2 separate regions of the Homo sapiens genome follow, and region 1 is linked to region 2. The links are contacts of gene promoters, found by promoter capture Hi-C in blood cells and fetal thymus (Javierre and others, 2016). All regions are on one chromosome and are shown on one strand. The core of a region is centred on a gene start or on the middle of the fragment in contact, and the rest is flanking DNA. Distances in the headings are between cores, read along the strand shown. Region 1 overlaps CCSER2 (coiled-coil serine rich protein 2). Region 2 holds the start of BMPR1A (bone morphogenetic protein receptor type 1A).

Region 1 (3,808 bases), core at 658-3,157, 2.4 Mb after region 2:
GTTTCTACATAATAGAATACAACATGGTAATGAAGACCTAATTATTGCTATATGCAACAATACAGATAAAACTAACAGGATCCTTTAAACAAGAGAATCCAGAGACTTGAGGATAAATATAGTGTGATTCCATTTATATGAAGGTCAGATTTCCATTTTCGATGTAAAAAGCTGCAATTAATATCACTCCTACCTAAAAACCTGGAAGAGCCAGATAATCTTCAAAATCATAACCTTTCATAAGCCCATCAGAAAGCTGTTATTGTAAGGCAAGCAAGTCAACCAAATTCCAAAGGGAGACAAGCCCCTCCCAGGAGAGACGGGACATTTAACAGTTTCACTTTTGGCTGAGCATAAAAGACAGAAATGACCACCATAAAAAGGAGTAATAAGCTAACATTTTAATGTCTGCTTAAAAGCCAAATGTGGACTAGCACAACAGCAAGCTCTTCCTCATGGGCCTCAACCTAGCATTCAAGAGAAACATATAAGAAAGCCCCCTCTTAACGGCACAGGCATGCAGGAGGTGATGAAAGCCTGCACTGGAACAAACACAAACCCTCTCACTTCCCTGCCTCCTTCTGTCCTCTGAAGCAAAAGCCTTAAACTGCTGGGGAAGCAGCAGCAAGACTTCTCACCCAGGGGCACAGGAAAAAAATCCAGTGCATGTGGAGGAAACAGAATGGAATGGGAGAAATGTTCAGTTGATCCATTTATGTGAGAGTAAGGTCAAGAACTGATTAAAGTAATTATGATAATATGTGTTAGAATACAGCAGTGGTTCCACAGTGCTTGTGTGTATCAGAATCACCCGGAAGACTTCATTAAAACAAGATCTCTGGACTCCACTCCCAGAGTTTCTGAACCAACATATCAAAGGTAAGGCCTTAGGAAAAAGTATTTTTAACAAGTTTCCAGGTGATGTTGATTCTGCCGATCTGGAATTCATACGTTGGAAATCCCTGGGACAGAGACTAACTCTGCAAGAGCGGGCTAACTGAAAAGGGGTTGACTGAGACATTGGCAACTTGATCTGGATGGTGTAAAATTCACCAAGAGTACATCATTTAAGATTTATGTATTTTATTGTATGTAAGTTATACTTCATTTTTTAAAGCTTCTCTTAAAAAATTAAAAGCCTCAAACTGCTTCTACTCCTATAAATAGTAAAAATAAGCCTTACTGCAAAGACAACTTATTCTACAAATTGATAAAAGAAATAAGCATGTATCCTGCTCTTCTTGTATTTCAAAGTAACCAAAAAATTGATGGAAAATCTTCTTTATAGAAGAACCACAACTGATAAATACAGAAAAAAAGATAGAATCACAAAGTAAGAAAATCTGAAACACTCCATTAAATATCAAAACACCCCTCAAAAAAGGGAGTGTGACAGTTAAAACTGAAACTATTAAAAGGTAAGTGGTAAATAACACCAGGGATTAATTATGCTGTTTTCTCTACACATGATGTTTGAAAACATCCATATAAAACTTCCATTTAAAAAAGTAAACCCCAGCCAGGCACAGTGGCTCACACCTGTCATCCCAGCACTTTAGGTGGTTGAGACAGGTGATCACCTGAGGTCAGGAGTTCCAGACCAGCCTGGCCAAGATGGTGAAACCCCATCTCTACTAAAAATACAAAAATCAGCTGGGTGTGGTGGCAGGTGCCTATAATCCCAGCTACTTGGGAGGCTGAGATAGGAGAATCACTTGAACTCGGGAGGTGGAAGTTGCAGTGAGCTGACATTGCACGACTGCACTCCAGCCTGGACAACAGAGTGAGACTCTGTCTCAGAAAAAAAAAATAAAATAAAAATAAAAAAGTAAACCCCAAATAAGGATGCTTTCATCAGGGAAAGAGATAGGAAATAAATTTCAGCACATTCCACATTATCCTCCTTCTCTTAGCATTCATTTTCATTCTCTCTCAGGAGCACTTATATACCCCTATTCAGAGAACTCCCAAACCCTGGATCTCTACATTTAACTCCTCCTACAAAAGACAAAGGACTCTTGAATTAGCAAAATCATAAACTTCTAACTACCCTGACCAAGGCTGATCAGCAGTAGCATCAATAACACCTAGAAACTTGTTAAAAATAGATTTTCTAAGGCCTTACCTTAGATATAGTGCTCAGCAATTCTGTAGAGCCCAGAGATCTTGTTTTAATAAAGCCTTCCAGGTGATTCTGATACACACAAACACTGTGGAACCACTGCTCTATTTTAACCCCTATTATCGTAATTAGTTTAACCTGTTCTTGACCTGACCCTCACATAAATCAACTAAACATTTTTTACATTCCATTCTGTTTCCCCCAGATACAATGGACCCTTCAGAGTTGCAGGTGCACCAGGGGGAGATAAATGAAGTCCCCTCCCAATTCCACAACTGTATAAAATACTATTGATACAGTAATGCCTGAATTAACTCATCCTAGGGGAATTAAGTAATCCTTTGGACATAAAGCACTTTTTAAAAAGAAAAAAAAAAGTTGGGACAAAAAAGTGTATGTCCTGAAAATTAGATATTCCTGGTCTTGAGTCATTTCCAGTGGGAGAAGGTTACAGGAATCTTTCTGAAGAGCAAACTTCACTAAGCAAAGCAGGGTCCTAGGACCAGGAGACAGTAAATGCCTAGGTTCACAGGTCCCACATACAGAAACTCCTCTACTTTCAACTCATAAGCTTCTGTACATATGAACAAGGCAACCAATCAAAATGAAAGTTTCTCAGCAATGCCTGACACCAAAGGAAAATGTTAGCGATTATTTACAAAAAGAATTTATGAACAGCCTTTCAGAACTTAAAACTGTTTGTAAATAAATGAACTTCTGTACCTGAAAAGAGTGGAGATGGTGGAGGAGGGAATAGTTGAGGCAATCACATTACGTGTCTGTGTATAATTAATAAATATATATATACACGTGTGTGTGTGTATATATATATACATATATGTATATGTATATATATATACACATATATACATATATATATATTTAGATAGGGTCTCACTGTCACCCAAGCCAGCATGCAGTGGTGCTATCACAGCTCACTGCAGCCTCAACTCCTGAGCTCAGGTGATCTTCCCATCTCAGCCTCCCAACACATATATATTTGAATTTAGACAAAGTAAAATTACTTTCCAGAGCTAGAGGAACATTAATGGTATAGGTGATTCCACCCATCATTCCACTCTATAAAAATATACTTACAAAGTGAACATATAGGAAAAGACATGAATCTCCTCCTCTCTCAGTAAGTCTCAGTTTATACATGCTTGGCACAGTATGAACAAATTACCAACAGTGATATACTACTATCTGAAAATGGGTATTTTTTGCAGAAGCCAACTCTCTGAACTGACCAACTCTTTGGTACTCAACCAAAGCTGCAAGAAAAGATAACCAGGTTAAACTTAAGTCACCATCTGGCTTCTCAACGGCAACTATACAAGATTTTTAAACTCCATGCTAACTTTAGACCCTAACCTCACCCAAAATGTCCTATTTCATAGTTATCTATGTCTTCCAAACCACTGTAGGCAGGGGAAAACAGAGGTGAGCAACTCAAGAGGCATGTGTGTTCTTTACTGTCTAGATGGCTAAATTCCACCTAATGGGAAAGGAAAATCATACTTAAAATCATGCATTAAACCACATTCTCTTCTTCAACAGAACTACTATATGCTTTCCATAACACCATTATGTCACCCATAGAAGCATTATTTGTCTACTAAGTATTTACTGAACATCCATTATGTGCCAGCAACTGCACAAGTTATTGTGGATACAGTTGTCACA
Region 2 (3,583 bases), core at 68-2,567:
GAGTAACTGAAAAATGTTCCTAAACGTAAAAGTGTTTGCAAACAGTTTTGGTTTTTTTTCTTCCTAATTCGTTTGCCAGAATACGATGTTCCTGGGTTCAAATCCCAGCTCCCTTAGACAAGTTAGTTAACCTCTTTGCGACTCGGTTTCTTCCCCTAAAACAATGAGGAATACAATAAACCAGAATCGTTGTAAGGATTAAATGACGTAACACAGGTGCCAAGTTCATACTATGTACTCTGAACAGTTTGTTAACCGCTTAAAAGAGAAAACCTGCAGGAGTTTGACCAAATTAAAACATCTGAGAGCATGAAAGAGTACCACGCTCAAACGCCAGACCCTAACACACAGCATATTATTTTTCTTCCCTGACGCAAGCTCATTTTTTTTTCCTTGCCAAATCTTTCCACTAGGAGTCTGGAAAGAGAAAAAAGGGTCCAGGCAATCCAGCAGAAAGTTTTCCAAAACTGAAGTACGGAATCACCAGGCCACGGAGCGGAGGCCGCGCAGGACAACAGGTGAAGCAGCTCCGGGAGCTCGGGGGCCAGGGCCCCTTCCCGCGGGGACTCGGGGGCGGGCCGGCTGCTCCTCTCACTCGACCCCCGCCCGAAACTCATTTTGTTCTCCCCTGTTCCTCCCCACAGCGTCCGGAGCCAAATCACAAATATCAGCCTCGCCGCTCCGGGGCGGGGAGGTGAGCGCCTTTCCCATTTAAGGATTCCAGAAGCGTCCCCGGAGCGACTTTCGCCCACTCCGCATCCCCAAACTCGGCCTGCAACCCGCGAGTGGGAGACAAAAGAGGGGCCGGCGGGGGACGCGGCGCGGGGTGCCGTGGGTCTCTGGCTGGGCGGTCCCGGCCCAGCGCGCGCCGAGGCCTGCGGAGCTGCCGGGGCCGGGCCGGGCAGCCCCTGGCTCCGGCCACCGCGCGCCCAGCTGCCTCTGCAGCCTCGCCCGAGCCCCTCTGGCCTCCCCGCTGCGGCCAGCCCCTCCGGTCCGCACGCGCACTCCCAACTCACCCGGACCCCAGGGAACGCATCCTCCAGCCCTCGGCGCGGAGCGGGTGGGCGCGGCGAGCCGCCGGGGCGAAGTGGGGCCCGAATCGGCCTTCGCCCTTGGCGTGCAGCGGCCCCGACCCGGTCGCCCCTCGATCGGGCCGTGCGATCTTCGCCGCGCGCGGACGGACGCGCCGAGCCTAAGCCTTCCTGCCCGCCCTTGGCCCTCCTCCCTCCTCGCTCCTGCCTCCTCCCTTCTCCTTCGCCAAGCCCGGCAGGCGGATTCCAATCTCTGCAGCGGCCGCCGCCACCGCCGCCGACTCTTGCCAGGAGGGGAGGGGGCGGCGCGGGTGCGGGGGCCTGGGGGAGGGGCGGGCGTCCGCGGGCCTTGCACGGCGCGCGCGCACTGGGAAGGCCCCCGCCCGCGCCGCGCGCACCCGACCACGGGCGCCTGCCCCGCCCCGCCCCGGACACGAAAAGAGCCGAGCGCACGGCGGAAGCGCCCGAAGAGTTCGCGGAGCCCGGCGCCCAGTTGCCGGGGAGGAGGGCCAGCCGCCGGCAAGGGGGCGCCGAGCTGCTGGTGCGGGCGGGAGTCGGGGCTGCTCCTCCGCGCGGGCCCGCCGGCCCCTCCCCACAAGCCAGCCCCACAGCTGCCGCCCGGGTAGCTTCCCGCAGACGCCGTAGGTAGCACGCGATGGAACGCGGCGGAGGGGAGCGTGGACACGGCTGCCGGGCGCTGCGGCCATCGGCGCCCTGGACGCCCGCTCCGGCCTTCGGGGCCGGATATCCCCACTCTCGCGGGCTCTTTCGCGTGGACCCCTCCTCCGGCCGACACTCACACTGCGGTGAACGCCAGTCAGCTGGCGTGAAATAAGGTCGCTGGGAAGGCACCAAGTCACCAAGGTGGGGGATGGCCAGGTCGTGGTAGTTGCGACAAAGAAAAATATAAGTCACATTGCATTTGTTTCTCGCCCACCCACCGCTCCCGGCGTCTCTTCCCGGGCTCCTTGCCAGCGTGCCGAGGCGCAGGCAGGGTGATGGAGGCTCCCCGGCCGGGAGGATCTGCCGGGGAGAGCGGCTTCCCTCATCGATTCGGGAGCGCCAGGCCCGGCGCGCCCGGGCTCCTGTGACCTGCGAGCCCGCGAATTCCAGCGGCATAAGATAAGGAGCGGCGAGGGCCCAACAGGACTGAGGTCAGCCAGCTATAAATACGCCTCCAGCTCCACCGCGGGCTCACGCTGGTGACCTCGTGTACCCTCCGGAGGCTCATTCCGTCCATTTGGAAAATGCAAATAATTGTCACCACCTCTTTTCTTCCATTTCCCCTCATTCATGGTGGAAAATGCTTTTAAAAGTATTCGATGACCCGTATGTGAGGAAAGAGGAGATAGGCCCCTTTTTCACCAAATGTGACTTTAACCTCCTTAGTAATCCAAGAAATGTATCAAGTTTAAGTCACTTAACAAAAGATGTTCTTTTAAAGGTGCATTTTAAAAAATCACTTTTAAAACTGGGTAAACTGGGTAAAAAGAAAGGGGGAAGGAAAACAATGTGCCAGGCATTTGTATTGACACACATTCTTGCCTGAAGAGGTGTTTAGATTCCAGGGTATTCCCTTATATTCTGGTATAAATGTTTGAATTCCCGTGTATTTTGTTTCAATTTTTTGGTTTATCTTTTATTCTGTCTCCCTTTTCTTCTTTTACCCGCCTTTGCCCTTAATGCTGCAGATAGCCTCTGTCATTCTGAATTATTTTTCAATTCTGTTTTCTTCCCTAATCTTTTTTTCTGGGCTCTTCAGCTGTCTCAGGTTTGACAGTCATGGGTTGTAGTATCTTGCTATGCAGGAAGAAGAGGATACGTGAGATTACTTGCATCAACTAAAATTGGTCACTTTTCTTTCTCAAGTTTCCTTCATAATACCCAGTTTTAGTTTTTTTGTTTTTTGGGGTTTTTTTGTTCTTTTTTTTTTGAGACGGAGTCTCGCTCTGTCGCCCAGGCTGAAGTGCAGTGGCGCCATCTCGGCTCACTGCAAGCTCCGCCTCCTGGGTTCACGCCATTCTCCTGCCTCAGCCTCCTGAGCAGCTGGGACTACAGGCGCCCGCCACCACGCCCGGCTAACTTTTTGTATTTTTAGTACAGACGGGGTGTCACCGTGTTAATAGGTGTTCTCGATCTCCTGACCTCGTGATCCTCCCGCCTCGGCCTCCCAAAGTGCTGGGATTACAAGCGTGAGCCACTGCGCCCAGCCCCAGCTTTAGTTCTAAAGGAAAAGATGGGCCTTTTGCTTAAGGAGATTCACATTGATTGGTCAAAGCTCTCATTGACGTATGCTGAGCAATGTGTCGGCAGAGAAAACCATGGCAAGCGTGTTATTATGCTCTTTATAGTCTAGTTGGATTTTTAGACATATGAATTGGTCTATAAAATAGACAACAATCTCAGGTGGGAACCTTAGTACATCAAGTTTCTGAAATGTACAAATGAGTATTCCCTGGCTTGTGTTATCTGCCACTGTAGAAATGAGAGCAAAATTGAAGCATCAAATTTTAAGTCGTGATATGTTTGCTTCTCTGCAAAAGACTCTCCTT

The links. Contacts are between HindIII fragments. The CHiCAGO score rates a contact against its expected background, and 5 or more counts as called.
Region 1: a fragment that was not itself captured here is called in contact with the fragment with the promoter of BMPR1A in region 2 in 1 of 17 cell types (naive CD8 T cells); the score reaches 5.5 in naive CD8 T cells.

What each region holds. Positions count from the first base shown.
Region 1 is chr10:84,357,822-84,361,629 of GRCh38, reverse strand. The region is part of intron 1 of CCSER2 (coiled-coil serine rich protein 2); the gene reads right to left. Among named protein-coding and RNA genes, the nearest start is that of CCSER2, 31 kb to the right of the region's middle. The HindIII fragment of the contact is 1,576 bases long and covers 1,120-2,695 here.
Region 2 is chr10:86,754,353-86,757,935 of GRCh38, reverse strand. BMPR1A (bone morphogenetic protein receptor type 1A) reads right to left here and starts at 1,317. Exons shown (of 13, transcript NM_004329.3): 1 at 1,017-1,317. RefSeq lists a silencer at 835-1,804. The HindIII fragment of the contact is 8,878 bases long and covers 1-3,583 here.